Linked DNA regions of Homo sapiens: all the other regions are linked to region 1. Evidence: promoter capture Hi-C in human tissues and cell types (Jung and others, 2019). All regions are on one chromosome and are shown on one strand. Each heading gives the region's core, a stretch centred on a gene start or on the middle of the fragment in contact. The rest is flanking DNA. Distances are from core to core; before and after follow the strand shown. Region 1 holds the start of HSPA4L (heat shock protein family A (Hsp70) member 4 like). Region 2 overlaps INTU (inturned planar cell polarity protein). Region 3 overlaps MFSD8 (major facilitator superfamily domain containing 8).

Evidence for each region. The method cuts DNA at HindIII sites, captures the fragments that hold promoters and counts their contacts. A contact is called where the count stands out against the background at its distance.
Region 2: a contact is called between a fragment that was not itself captured here and the fragment with the promoter of HSPA4L in region 1, in 1 of the 25 tissues and cell types used here (heart right ventricle).
Region 3: a contact is called between a fragment that was not itself captured here and the fragment with the promoter of HSPA4L in region 1, in 1 of the 25 tissues and cell types used here (adrenal gland).

The regions. Positions count from the first base shown.
Region 1 is chr4:127,779,908-127,784,112 of GRCh38, reverse strand. HSPA4L (heat shock protein family A (Hsp70) member 4 like) reads right to left here and starts at 1,791. Exons shown (of 19, transcript NM_014278.4): 1 at 1,456-1,791. The coding sequence starts at 1,562. RefSeq lists enhancers at 1,041-1,120, 729-1,721, 1,621-1,770 and silencers at 1,911-1,980, 2,261-2,430. The HindIII fragment of the contact is 5,760 bases long and covers 789-4,205 here.
Region 2 is chr4:127,646,970-127,650,768 of GRCh38, reverse strand. The region is part of intron 2 of INTU (inturned planar cell polarity protein); the gene reads right to left. Among named protein-coding and RNA genes, the nearest start is that of INTU, 16 kb to the right of the region's middle. The HindIII fragment of the contact is 4,339 bases long and covers 1-3,799 here.
Region 3 is chr4:127,952,867-127,957,022 of GRCh38, reverse strand. All of the region lies in intron 2 of MFSD8 (major facilitator superfamily domain containing 8), which reads left to right. Among named protein-coding and RNA genes, the nearest start is that of MFSD8, 10 kb to the left of the region's middle. The HindIII fragment of the contact is 5,881 bases long and covers 1-4,156 here.

The sequences.
Region 1 (4,205 bases), core at 542-3,041:
TTGTTGTGGCTTAATATAAAACCTTGTAGAGACGAATTCATCGACTTCACAGTTACTGTTTCGGCCTCTCACTGTGCATAAAAGCCAGAAAAAGATGTAAAAAGTAGAAGAGTTCAAACATTATTGAGGATTACCTTATCTATGCCCATGTATTGAAAATATAAACGTCCAAAACGTTTAAAATTTCAATAGAAGAAACGTGTACATCTACGAAAAAAGGTATAAAACCTTCTAGAATCTTCTTGGAAAGAAATCAAAGCACAGACTGCTTCAAGTGAGCTACTCTTCAACATCTTTTTGCCATATTTTAAAGCTTTCCATAGAATAGTAAATGAGGCATTTAAAGACCATTGGACACTGACCTTGTTTTAGTATAGTTAAGGTATTATATTTTGGACCATTCAGAACGGTCAAATTAAGATGCCAAATTACCTTTCCATAAAAAGTAATATAGGTTTCATACAGTTGGTTTCCTCATAAAATTACCAGTAACAGCAGCCTATAAGCAGCAACTAGTTTTTCATATTTCAGAATTACTTCATTATATTCCTTGCCAACAAACTTCCCAGGCCAGAGAAACAACGGAACATGTGGAAACATGTTTCCATGACATAACGCCGCTCCTCCTAAGCCTTTCATTAAGCGTTCATAATAGAATCACTCCACAGTCATGTTTATACGGGACAGCTGCCCCCGACTCCGGCAATTCACTCTGCAGAAACACGCTTTTGGTCCGACCCAACCCCGCCGCATTCCAGCAACTGACGTAGTTACCAATGCACAAGGCCAGTGACTCCCATCCCGAGGCTCTCCCTATCAATGCACCATTGACCTGGCCCTGTAAACCGGCTCCATTACCTGCAGTTCTCAAGGGCACTGGGTTTTGTAAAACCCCACATGCCTCACTCCCCGCCCTTAAAAAAAAAAAAAAGGCTTTCGGGGCCAGATGAACCTGCAATTCATCTCTGACGTGTGCAGCCGAAGCTGACTTTTTACTTTTCTGAGAAAAAGCTGTCACCCAGAGGGACGGGGAAAGGAAGGAGGGCAGCTGGCGCGGGGCCGATAATCCCACGTAAACCTCGTTAGAGGCAACCGGAGATCTTTCTCAATATTCCGGACGCCAGGGGCTGTCCCACAGCAACCTCTTCCTCGCAAGCAAAAGAGGCGTTGGGGGACAGCGGCACGAGGCAGGGGACGTGCGTAGGTACAGAAAAGAGAGCTGCGCAAACTAGTGCGGTCCCTCGTCCTTGAAGGAAAAGAAGCTTTGCGGGGCGAGGAAGTCCGACTGCCACCCGGCGGTCTCTAGGGACTGCGGTTGACGGGTTGCACCTGTCATCTCGGGGTTCGGCGCACGTTAGGGGAAAATCCGAGGAAGCGAGCAGACAGGACAAACGTTAAGGACGGGAGAGAAAAACGTTTCTTAGGGTCGAGGTGATGCTCAGCAGAGGCACTTACGGGGTACACCTGTCGCTGTACTCATTGGCGATGGTCTCGATGCCGCCACTTCTCGCGACAGCAATGTAGCAGTTGAGAAAGCCGAGGTCAATGCCAACCACAGACATCCCGCCGCGTGATGGTCGGGCTGCTGGTACTGAACCCTTCGGTACGGGAACCGTGTCCTCTTCTGGGCTATTGCTGCTGGGATTGCGACTCCTACCAGAAGCAAACGAGAGGGGACCCCAAGTCGCTAAGCAGAAAATCTAGGGCAGGGAGTCGGAAACCCGCGGAAGGAGCAGAGGCCGTCAGCGCCGCAGCCTGCACCGCGTCCCGCAGCCTGGGTCTTTCCCTACTGCGGTTCGGCCGCCTCCAACCGGCGGTTACTGGGACCTGCGCCTGCGCGCTCGGCTGCCCGGGAGGCGCGCGAGCCTCCGCTCCGCGCCCGAGCCAGCTCCGGGCCCGGACTTCGGCCGCTTCCGTCAGCACTCGGGCAACGGCTGCCCAAGAAGCTGCGGGTTCGAGAAAGATCTGGAAAATGGAGGCTGCTGAGCTATCCGGGGGCGGGAGAAGCGGGAAGGCGGGGCGGGGAGGATCGGGGAAAGGAGGCTAGGCACATTGGCTTGCTCGCCCTCGCTCGGCAGTAGGACGTCGGGCGGTCGGGCTAGGTGAGAGGCAGGCGACCGGCCGGCCCGGGGCTTTGCGAACGTGTTTTGAGGCACATTTTTGGGTTGTTTTGGCAACCGGAGGCGTGCTTGTCACGGCGGCAGGATGCTGTCCTGGCTGGCGGGCGCCGCCCCCTCACCCCCTGCCCTCAGAAGGGCTCGCCCGCAGGCCTCGCCTCCCCGAGGGGCCCATGTGCAGCCCGGCGCCCTCCCCTTGTGGCTGGAGGCCCGCCGCGCCCGGCTCTGTGAGGTGGCGCGCATTGTCCGACGTCCGCCGCTCCGCCCTGTCCAGCCCCGGGGGAGCTGCCGAGCCCGGGACAGACTCTTGTGCGAAAGCGGGATGAGCACATGTTAGGTTTTTTTCTTTTTTCATCAGCAGGATTTGAAATATCAAAAGTCAAACTTCTGTCAAGAAATAAGATCACACTGACAACTTTCCCTCCACGTACCTTTCCTCACACCTTTCTAAAAGATGCTGGCCCCGCCGCTGACCCTTGTCTCTGGAAACCAGTTTTACAGGAAAGTGACCTTAATTAAGTGTGCCACTCACACCAGCCAAGTCTGTGCTTTAGCCTCCAGCCGCTGCCCTGTGGTCCTCAAAAAAGAGCCCAGTGTGGTCCAGCGCCCTCCCTCTTGGTTTGATCGGCATGTGTTGCCTGTCTGTAATTAACCAAGTTTTATGTTACACTTAAGAAATTTGGCTGTCTTGTTGCTTTTCGTTCACTTTTACGTGTGTGCCCTGTTCCTTCTCTGCCAGTCCTTGGTCTGTTCCCTGTTCCTCCCCGTCCTCTTCATCTAGTCTCTGTTCCTTCTCATCCAATTCTTTGTGTGTTTTCCTGTTCCATTTTGGTATCCATCTTGAAAACAGGCGTGTTTTTTTGTTTGTTTGTTTTGTTTACTAGATTCTTTAGTATTCTGATTATCCCTAGTTGTCCACTTCTTTAAATAACTTAGATTTTTTACTATTAATAATGTTGCTACAGCAGCAGCAGCAGCAAGGGTGGCTATAGTTCCTGCTGCTGTTAGAATGAACGTGAAATCCATTTTCAAGGGCAATACTGAGGCAACTGGATTGTACAGTATTGCTTGGGCTCTGGTCTCTACATTGAAGAAATCAATCAGGCCTCTCTTCCCTTCATGAGCACTCAGGAGACGTGGAGCCCCTGGGTGAAGCTGCGCTCTGAGACACCGCAGAACTCGGCGTCCCAGCGGGCAGCTCGTGAGCAGAACAGGGATTGGGCGTTGCCCTGCGACTGAACCCTGGGCCCTGGTCCTGCTGGGCGCCTGTGACTTCCACCAGTTCTCCTCACACACCTCTTCTGACATCGGCCATCACTATCTAGATTTATTCCAGAATATCCTGAAATTCTCCTAGTACAATTAATTTATCTTAATTCCATTAGTTTATCCATGTTGTCTATACAACTTGAGGGTGTAAGAATGTTTTTTTTTTTTCCTATTAAAAATACCACTTAAAATATCAAAGTAAAAAGGAAGTTGAGGCCAGGAGCAAAGTGGTGTTATCATCACGTTCCTTACAATTACTGGCAGGACGTGAGAGTACCCAGTGGTTAAAACCATGACGGGCTTTGGGGTCACACAGATTTGGGTTGTAGTACCAGGCTTGCCTAACTTACTACCTGTATAACGTTTGGCAAGTTACTTAATGCTCCAAGCCACAGGTTCAGTCTGTTAAAATGAGGACAAATATGCCTACTGGGCTGTTTTTATGATTAAATAATGTAAGCACTGCATCAGTCCCTGGCACCAAACGGTCAATAAATGCTAGCTATGCTTAGCTGCTGAATGATCCTGATTCATGTACATTGGTCATGTATCCAGCAACCTTGCTGTATTCTAAATTCAAGTATTTGCAGAATTTCTTGGATTTTCTGTGTATAGAACAATATGGCCTGGGAAATAATGAATTTCTTCATTTCTATTTCTTCTGTTTCTTATTGTTTTGCCTGGATTATGTTGCTTAAGTGCTCCAGTAAAATTTTGAAAATAAACAGTAGTGGTAAGCATCCTTGTCTTGTCCCTAACATTAAATACCTTTGTGTTTATGATGTAAGAAAGTTAACAAAATTATCTTCTATTCCTACT
Region 2 (3,799 bases), core at 748-3,247, 130 kb after region 1:
AGAAATACCATTTGACCCAGCCATCCCATTACTGGGTATATACCCAAAGGACTATAAATCATGCTGCTATAAAGACACATGCACACGTATGTTTATTGCGGCATTATTCACAATGGCAAAGACTTGGAACCAACCCAAATGTCCAACAATGATAGACTGGATTAAGAAAATGTGGCACATATACACCATGGAATACTATGCAGCCATAAAAAATGATGAGTTCATGTGCTTTGTAGGGACATGGGTGAAATTGGAAATCATTCTCAGTAAACTATCGCAAGAACAAAAAACCAAACACTGCATATTCTCACTCATAGATGGGAATTGAAGAATGAGATCACATGGACACAGGAAGGGGAACATCACACTCTGGGGACTGTGGTGGGGTGGGGGGAGGGGGGAGGGATAGCATTGGGAGATATACCTAATGCTAGATGATGAGTTAGTGGGTGCAGCGCACCAGCATGGCACATGTATACATATGTAACTAACCTGCACAATGTGCACATGTACCCTAAAACTTAAAGTATAATAAAAAAAATTAAAAAATTAAAACAAAACAAAACAAAAACCCACCTGAAATTCTAATTAAATCCATGTGGCATATCATAACACAATATGCTATAGTATTCACTTCTGTTATTGATCTATGTCTACAAACAGTTCTTTGCTTCAAAGGCCCCAACCATATCAAAATACACTGCATGTTTGGTAAAAATTTCCTTTTCCGTGTACTTTAAAAGAAATGTGTATGTTTTCCAAATCTGATAATAAAATAAATATCAGTGTTAAAATGGAAATTCACTTTCAGAACATAATTAAAGATACTATCAAAATACCAGTGAGCTATATTAATAGAAATATAGACATACCAAAGTTATTTTTCTCATCATTCCTAAATATATTATTAGGAAATTGATGAAATAATTCATATTCATCCATTCATTTAAGAAATATTTACTGAGCACTTAATGTGTGCCAGGCACTCTTCTAAGCACTAGAGACAAAGAATTGAACAAAGACAAAATCTCTACTCTCAGGGAGCTTAATATTCTTTGGGGAAGATGGATAATAAACATGTATACAGGCTAAGTATCCCAAATCCAAAAATTGAAAATCCAAAATCCTCCAAAATCCAAAACTTTTTGAGCACCAACGTGACCCTCAAAGGAAATGCTCATTGGAGCATTTTGGATTTAGGATTGTCAGATTTGGGATGCTCAACAGGTAAGTATAATGCAATATTAAAAAAAAAAAAATTGGAAGCACTTCTGGTCCCAGGTATTTTGAAGAAGGAGTACTCAACCTGTATATGTAGAATCGTGTTGGTAGATAATTCTTCATGAGTCTCATGTTTCTGTACATCTTACAAGCCGAGGCATTGAGAGTCTTTGTTCTAGACTGTCTTTTCAAAGACGTTCGTGTAATGAACAGCCTTGGACAACAGAGATATGTTTCCATCCTGAGCAAAGGTCAAGCTTGTTTACTGAATGGTATAATAAGGTCAATGCTGTGCTCAATATCTTATTATTAATAACTGTTCTTTATAAAAGATTGGTGTTCCCTAAGTTCAGAGTTCCTTTCCTTTAAGGCAACCCATTATTAGGCATCACTTGGCCATCTGTAGGGTTGGCAAACAGATGAAAATGTTGCCACTGTAGGTACTGCTATTCCTCCTTTTTTTCCTTCCTCTCCTTGATACTCTATTGAATGAGAATGGGGTTAAGTGCAGAGTAAGCAGGAGTACTTTCTTAGGCCAACTGTGAAGGCTTGAACTAGGTTTAGATGCTCAAGAGATACAACTCAGATGGGAGTTTTGCAAGCATGGGCACCAAGTCATTATGATGGTTAACTATTACAGCACTTTGGACAAACTTTTCTTAAAAGTAAGAACTTGCAGACCAAAATAAACTTTCAACTTGAAGTCCACTTGGAAAAAAAAAAACACAACAAGATGCCTGTTTAATTTCTCCTATATAAGAGATTAAACAAAAGTACTATATCAAATTACTTATAGCTGTAGTGATTAAAAGAAAATAAAGGAATGATGGACACAGTATAGCTGTGTCAATGTAAAATGAAACCACTTTTGGACTATCCTAATGATTAGTTCTGTTGTCTATAGTTTGTTATCCTCAGGGCACAGAAATAGTAAAAACATTTTAAATTTGTTACTTTAAACTAAAACTCCATTGGATGATGTGCCAAATGACTTTTTTCTCCAAATCCTAATGAATACATTCCTGTAGCTGAGTGTTATAGGGAGTATTATCTAAAATTATCAAGTCTAACAAACCTCTAAAAAGAGGAGATGGTTCATCATAAAAATATATGAAAATAAATTCTGAAAGCAAGTGTAGTATACCCAATATTTTTAAATGTTTAGTAGAAAATTTTCCCATTCTATGAAATAAATATTATATCCACTTCTCATTCTCCCAGACATTTGTTTTCCTCTAGTGTTTCTGAACACTTCTGTGAAGTGACTCAGAGATGGCTGGCTTCCCGGACATCGCACCTTTGCAGTGGACATCCTAAACCCAAGGAAAGGTCTTTCTCCATAAGTACACGGGAGTCATTAATATGATCTGTCCCATTTCAAAGGCTAAAAGGGAATGAATTATATGATTGATTTGCATTGTTAAATAAGAAATGGCCTGGGTAGAAATATGAGAAAATTTTTATTAAGAGATATATTTAAGAACCAAATAAAATATTTTAAAAAGAGATCAGTTTATCACAGTTCCTCAATGTAAAGTTAAATTATGTGAGAAAAGCCATCAATTTCTCAGTATATACTTAACATCAAACAACATGTGTACTAAAGGGCTACTACATAAGGCACCAAGGGCTATGAAAATATATATGCAAAAGTTTGTTTACTGCTGTGTTTATACTATATATAAAATGAATATACAACTTAAATTATTTTTGACAAAAGATTATTGTATATAAATGTAGGAAAAGGGAGGATATATAACAAAATGTTGTCTTTGGGTATATGGAATTTTTCTTTTTTGCTTAATTGTATTTTCTAAATTGTCTACAATGAACGTATATTATTACTATCACAAAAAGAAAAAAAACTCATATTTTACCAAAAAACCCCCCACTGAGGTAGGCAGCATAATTGCCCCCCAAAGATGTCTATGTTTCAATCCCTGAAATCTCTGAATATGCTACCTTACACAGCAAGAAGGACTTTGCAGTTGTAATTAACTTAAAAGATTGGAAGACTGTCCTGGATTATCCGAATGATCGTCAGGTAAAGATAAAGGTCTTTATAGGAGGAAGGCAAAAGTGTCAGGGTCAGCATGAGAGAGACTGGAAGATGCTATGCTGCTGGCTTTGATGATGGAGGACAGGACCACAAGCCAAAGAATGCAGGTAGCCTCTGAAAGCTGGCCAAGGAATGGGATTCTTCCCTGGAGCCTCCAAAAGGAATGTAGCCCTGTGGACACCTTGATTTTCATACAAGAAGACCCATTTTAGATTTCTGGCTTACATTATTGCAAGATGATAAATCTGTATTGTTTTAAACCACTAAGTTTGTGGTAATTTGTCACGGCAGCAATAGAAGATGAATGCACTAGCCTAGTAATACAAAGCAATCTTTGTGATGCACCAAAAAAGGAATCACGAATGCTAAAAAGCAAAGATGGACACACAAGGTGTATCTGGAGGTCAGTTAGGAAAAAAATAAATCAGGCTTGCTTGTTAGAGGTGGGGATTTATGGATAGAAGGAGTGGCACATATGTATGGGACAGAAAAATGAGATCAAATTGTGAATTGAAATTG
Region 3 (4,156 bases), core at 1,599-4,098, 170 kb before region 1:
GCTTAAGGCTTGTGAATTAAGCTGACAAAAGAAAGACTAACAGTTAAAAAAGTATACAAATTTATTTGATGTTAATATTTTTTAATGAAAAGAAACAAATAACATTAAGGAATGTACATACAAACGAAACTAGACAACTACTAAGAGTCCCTAACACTTTCATGTACTCACAAAAGTATTTCATCTTTTTTTTTTTTTTTTTTTGAGACGGAGTTTCACTCTTGTTGCCCAGGCTGGAGTGCAATGGCACGATCTCAGCTCACTGCAACCTCCACCTCCCAGATTCAAGCGATTCGCCTGCCCCAGCCTGCCAAGTATCTGGGATTACAGGCATGTGCCACCACCCCTGGCTAATTTTGTATTTTTAGTAGAGACGGGATGTCTCCATGTTGGTCAGGCTGGTCTCGAACTCCCAACCTCAGGTGATCTGCCCACCTCGGCCTCCCAAAGTGCTGCGATTACAGGCGTGAGTCACCGCCCCCAGTTAAAAATATTTCATCTTTTTTCTTTTTTTTTTTTTTTCAAGACGGAGTTTCGCACTGTCGCCCAGGCTGGAGTGCAGTGGCGCGATCTCGGCTCACTGCAAGCTCCGCCTCCCAGGTTCGCGTGATTCTCCTGCCTCAGCCTCCCGAGTAGCTGGGACTACAGACACCCGCCACCACGCTAATTGTTTTATATTTTTAGTAGAGACGGGGTTTCACTGTGTTAGCCGGGATGTCTTGATCTCCTGACCTCGTGATCTGCCAGACTCAGCCTCCCAAAGTGCTGGAATTACAGGCCTGAGCCACCGCACCTGGCCAAAAGTATTTCATCTTTACAGCCATCAGTCAATTATTTGTTCTGCTACTTCTTGAAGATGTGCAAAATTTCTTTTTAAAAAAATTTTATTATTTATTATTATTTATTCATTTTTTGAGGTGGAGTCGCCCAGGCTGGAGTGCAGTGGTGTGATCTCGGCTTACTGCAACCTCTGCCTCCTGGGTTCGAGCAATTCTTGTGCCTTAGCCTCCCGAGTAGCTGGGACTACAGGCGCACGCTATCACGCCCAGCTAATTTTTTTGTATCTTTAGTAGAGATGGGGTTTCACGGCGTTAGCCAGGATGGTCTCGATCTCGTGACCTCATGATCTGCCCGCCTCAGCCTCCCAAAGTGCTGGGATTACAGGCGTGAGCCACCCCGCCTGGCCAGTGCAAAATTTCTTAAGTTTAAATATACAGTCTTAATTATACCTGTGTCTTAATGTCCCAAGACAGATTGTAGGTAACAGAATCTCAATTGTGCCTCAAAGAATTAACAACAAAACAAAATTCAATCTATTCTCTGCATTCAGGCAGAAAGGGGGAGAGCAGAGAACCCTTCCTGCATCTGCTATTTCTCGGTTGCCTTCAGTTTGAGATAATTAATATGGCAAAACAGCAGATTTTTGGAGTAGCATACTCTGATTGCCTTCAGTATATACCACATTTTTTTTTTTTTTTTTTTTGAGACAAAGTCTCGCTCTGTCGTCCAAGCTGGAGTGCAGTGGTGTGATCTTGGCTCACTGAAACCTCCGCCTGCGGGGTTCAAGCAATTCTCTGCCTCAGCCTCCCAGGTAGCTGGGATTACAGTCACCCACCACCATGCCCGGCTAATTTTTGTATTTTTAGTAGAGATGGGGTTTCACCATCTTGGCCAGGCTGGTCTTGAACTCCTGACCTCGTGATCCACCGGCCTCAGCCTCCCAAAGTGCTAGGATTACAGCCTAGCCTGGCCTACCACATTTTGTTTAGCCATTTATCTGTCGATGGACATTTGGGTTGCTTCCACCTCTTGGCTGTTGTGAATAGTGCTGCTGTCAATATGGGTGTGCAAATATCTCTTCAAGATCCTGCTTTTAGTCCTTTTGGGTATATATCCAGAAGTGAAATTGCTGGATCATATTATGATTTTCTTTTTAATTTTTTAATTTTTTGGAAAATTGCCATACTGTTTTCCATAGCAGCCGTACCATTTTATTTACATTCTCAACAACAGTCAGGGTTCCAATTTTTTCACATCCTTGCCAACGTTAACTTTCTTTTGGATAGTAGTCATCCTAGTGGATGAGATGGTATCTTGTTTTGATTTGCATCTTCTTAATGATTAGTGATGTTGAACATGTTTCTTGTGCTTTCTGTCCATTTGTATATCTTCTTTGGAGAAGTGTTTGTTCAAGACCATTGCCCATTTATTAGTTGGATTTTTTGTTGTTGAGTTGTAGGAATTCTTTATATACTCTGAATGTTAGCCCCTTATCCAATATATGATTTGTAAATATTTTCTCCCATTCCAGGACTCTTCTATTCAGTGTGCTAAATGTATCCTGTGATTCACATTCACAGAAGTGTTAAATACTGATGTAGTCCACCTTCTCTGTTTTTTTCTTTTTGAGACAGAGTCTTGCTTTGTTGCCCAAGTTGGAGTGCAATGGCACTATCTCGGCTCGCTGCAACCTCCCGCTTTCGGGTTCAAGCTATGCTTGTGCCTCAGCCTCCCTGGTAGCTGGGACTGCAGGTGTGTGCCACCACACCTGGCTAATTTTTGTATTTTTAGTAGAGACGGGGTTTTGCCATTTTTGCCAGGCTGATCTCAAACTCCTGACCTCAGGTAGTCCACCTGCCTTGGCCTCCCAAAGTGCTGGGATTACAGGCATGAGCCCCACACCTGGCTGTTTTTATCTTTTGTTGCCTCTAACCTCAACTTATTTTTATATTGATAAAACATACAAAAAGTAAAATACAAGAATCTCAATTTGTATTGCTTGATGTATTTTAACCTATTCACATTATTTCTGAATATGTAGTTACTAAAAAGTAAAACTTCATGAGGAAAACTTTTCAAAATATTAAACATCTATAACCATGTTAAAAGGATGGGATGAGAATATATAGGAATGATCAATATTGTGATAGTTTTTAAAGGACTGTTTTAGGAAATGAATTTTTTTCCAAGTAGAAACCCTCTAAATCTATAGGCACTAATATTACAAGTGGTCTCTTTCCCCTGAGAGGAATTAAGGAAGGTCATTTTACTAAATTGCTTTCCATATATTTTCCATATATTTTCTATTTACCCCAATCATCCTGTTTTCTCTCACTTGCCAAAGTTGTGCATGATTCAGTACTGGGTAAAAAGAAAAGTGAATGATAAAGGATATTTTCAACAATTCTTTATAATACATTTTCACCTTGCATTGTGTATCAGTTAGAATGACTTGTGCAGGGCCAGGCAAGGTGGCTCACGCCTGTAATCCCAGCACTTTGCAAGGCTGAGGCGGGCGGATCACGAGGTCAGGAGTTTGCGACCAGTCTGGCCAATATGGTGAAACCCCATCTCTACTAAAAATACACTTGAACCCAGGAGGCAGAGGTTGCACTGAGCCAAGATCACACCACTGCACTCCAGCCTGGGCCACAGAGCAAGATTCCGTCTCAAAAAAAAAAAAAAAAAAAAAAAAAAAACAGAATGCCTTGTGCAAATATCAGAAAAAGTGCTGAATCAGTTGGCTTATACTGTAACGTAATTTATTCTTTTTTTTTTTTTGAGCTGAGTGCAGTGGCACGATCTTGGCTCACTGCAACCTCAGCCTCCCGTGTTGAAACGATTCTCCTGCCTCAGCCTTCCAAGTAGTTGGGATTACAGGCATGCGGCACCATGCCCAGCTAATGTTGTATTTTTAGTAGAGACGGGGTTTCTCCATGTTGGTCAGGCTGGTCTTGAACTCCCGACCTCAGGTGATCCGCCCGCCTCAGCCTCCCAAAGTGCTAGGATTACAGGTGTGACCTGTAAATTTCTAAACCAACATCAACTAAGATGATGGGATTACTCCAGTTGAATTTTTTAGACTAATCAGAATGTACCCTCTGGGATCGAACATGGAGAGAGTTTCTCTTAGACCATGAGGCTTTGTTGAGGAAGTATGGATACCTGAATAGAACTGGGGTTCCATCAAGAAGGTGGAAGGGGCCAATGGATACTGTTTTGGTAGCAATGCCTGCAATTGATTTATTTTTCCATTTTAAACACTTCTGGTTTTTAGTACTCAATTATCTAAAATTATAAGAAACAATTTCAAATTCAACAGCAAAAAAAGAAAATTATTTTAACTTTAGATTTTTTTTTTTTTTTTTTTTTTGAG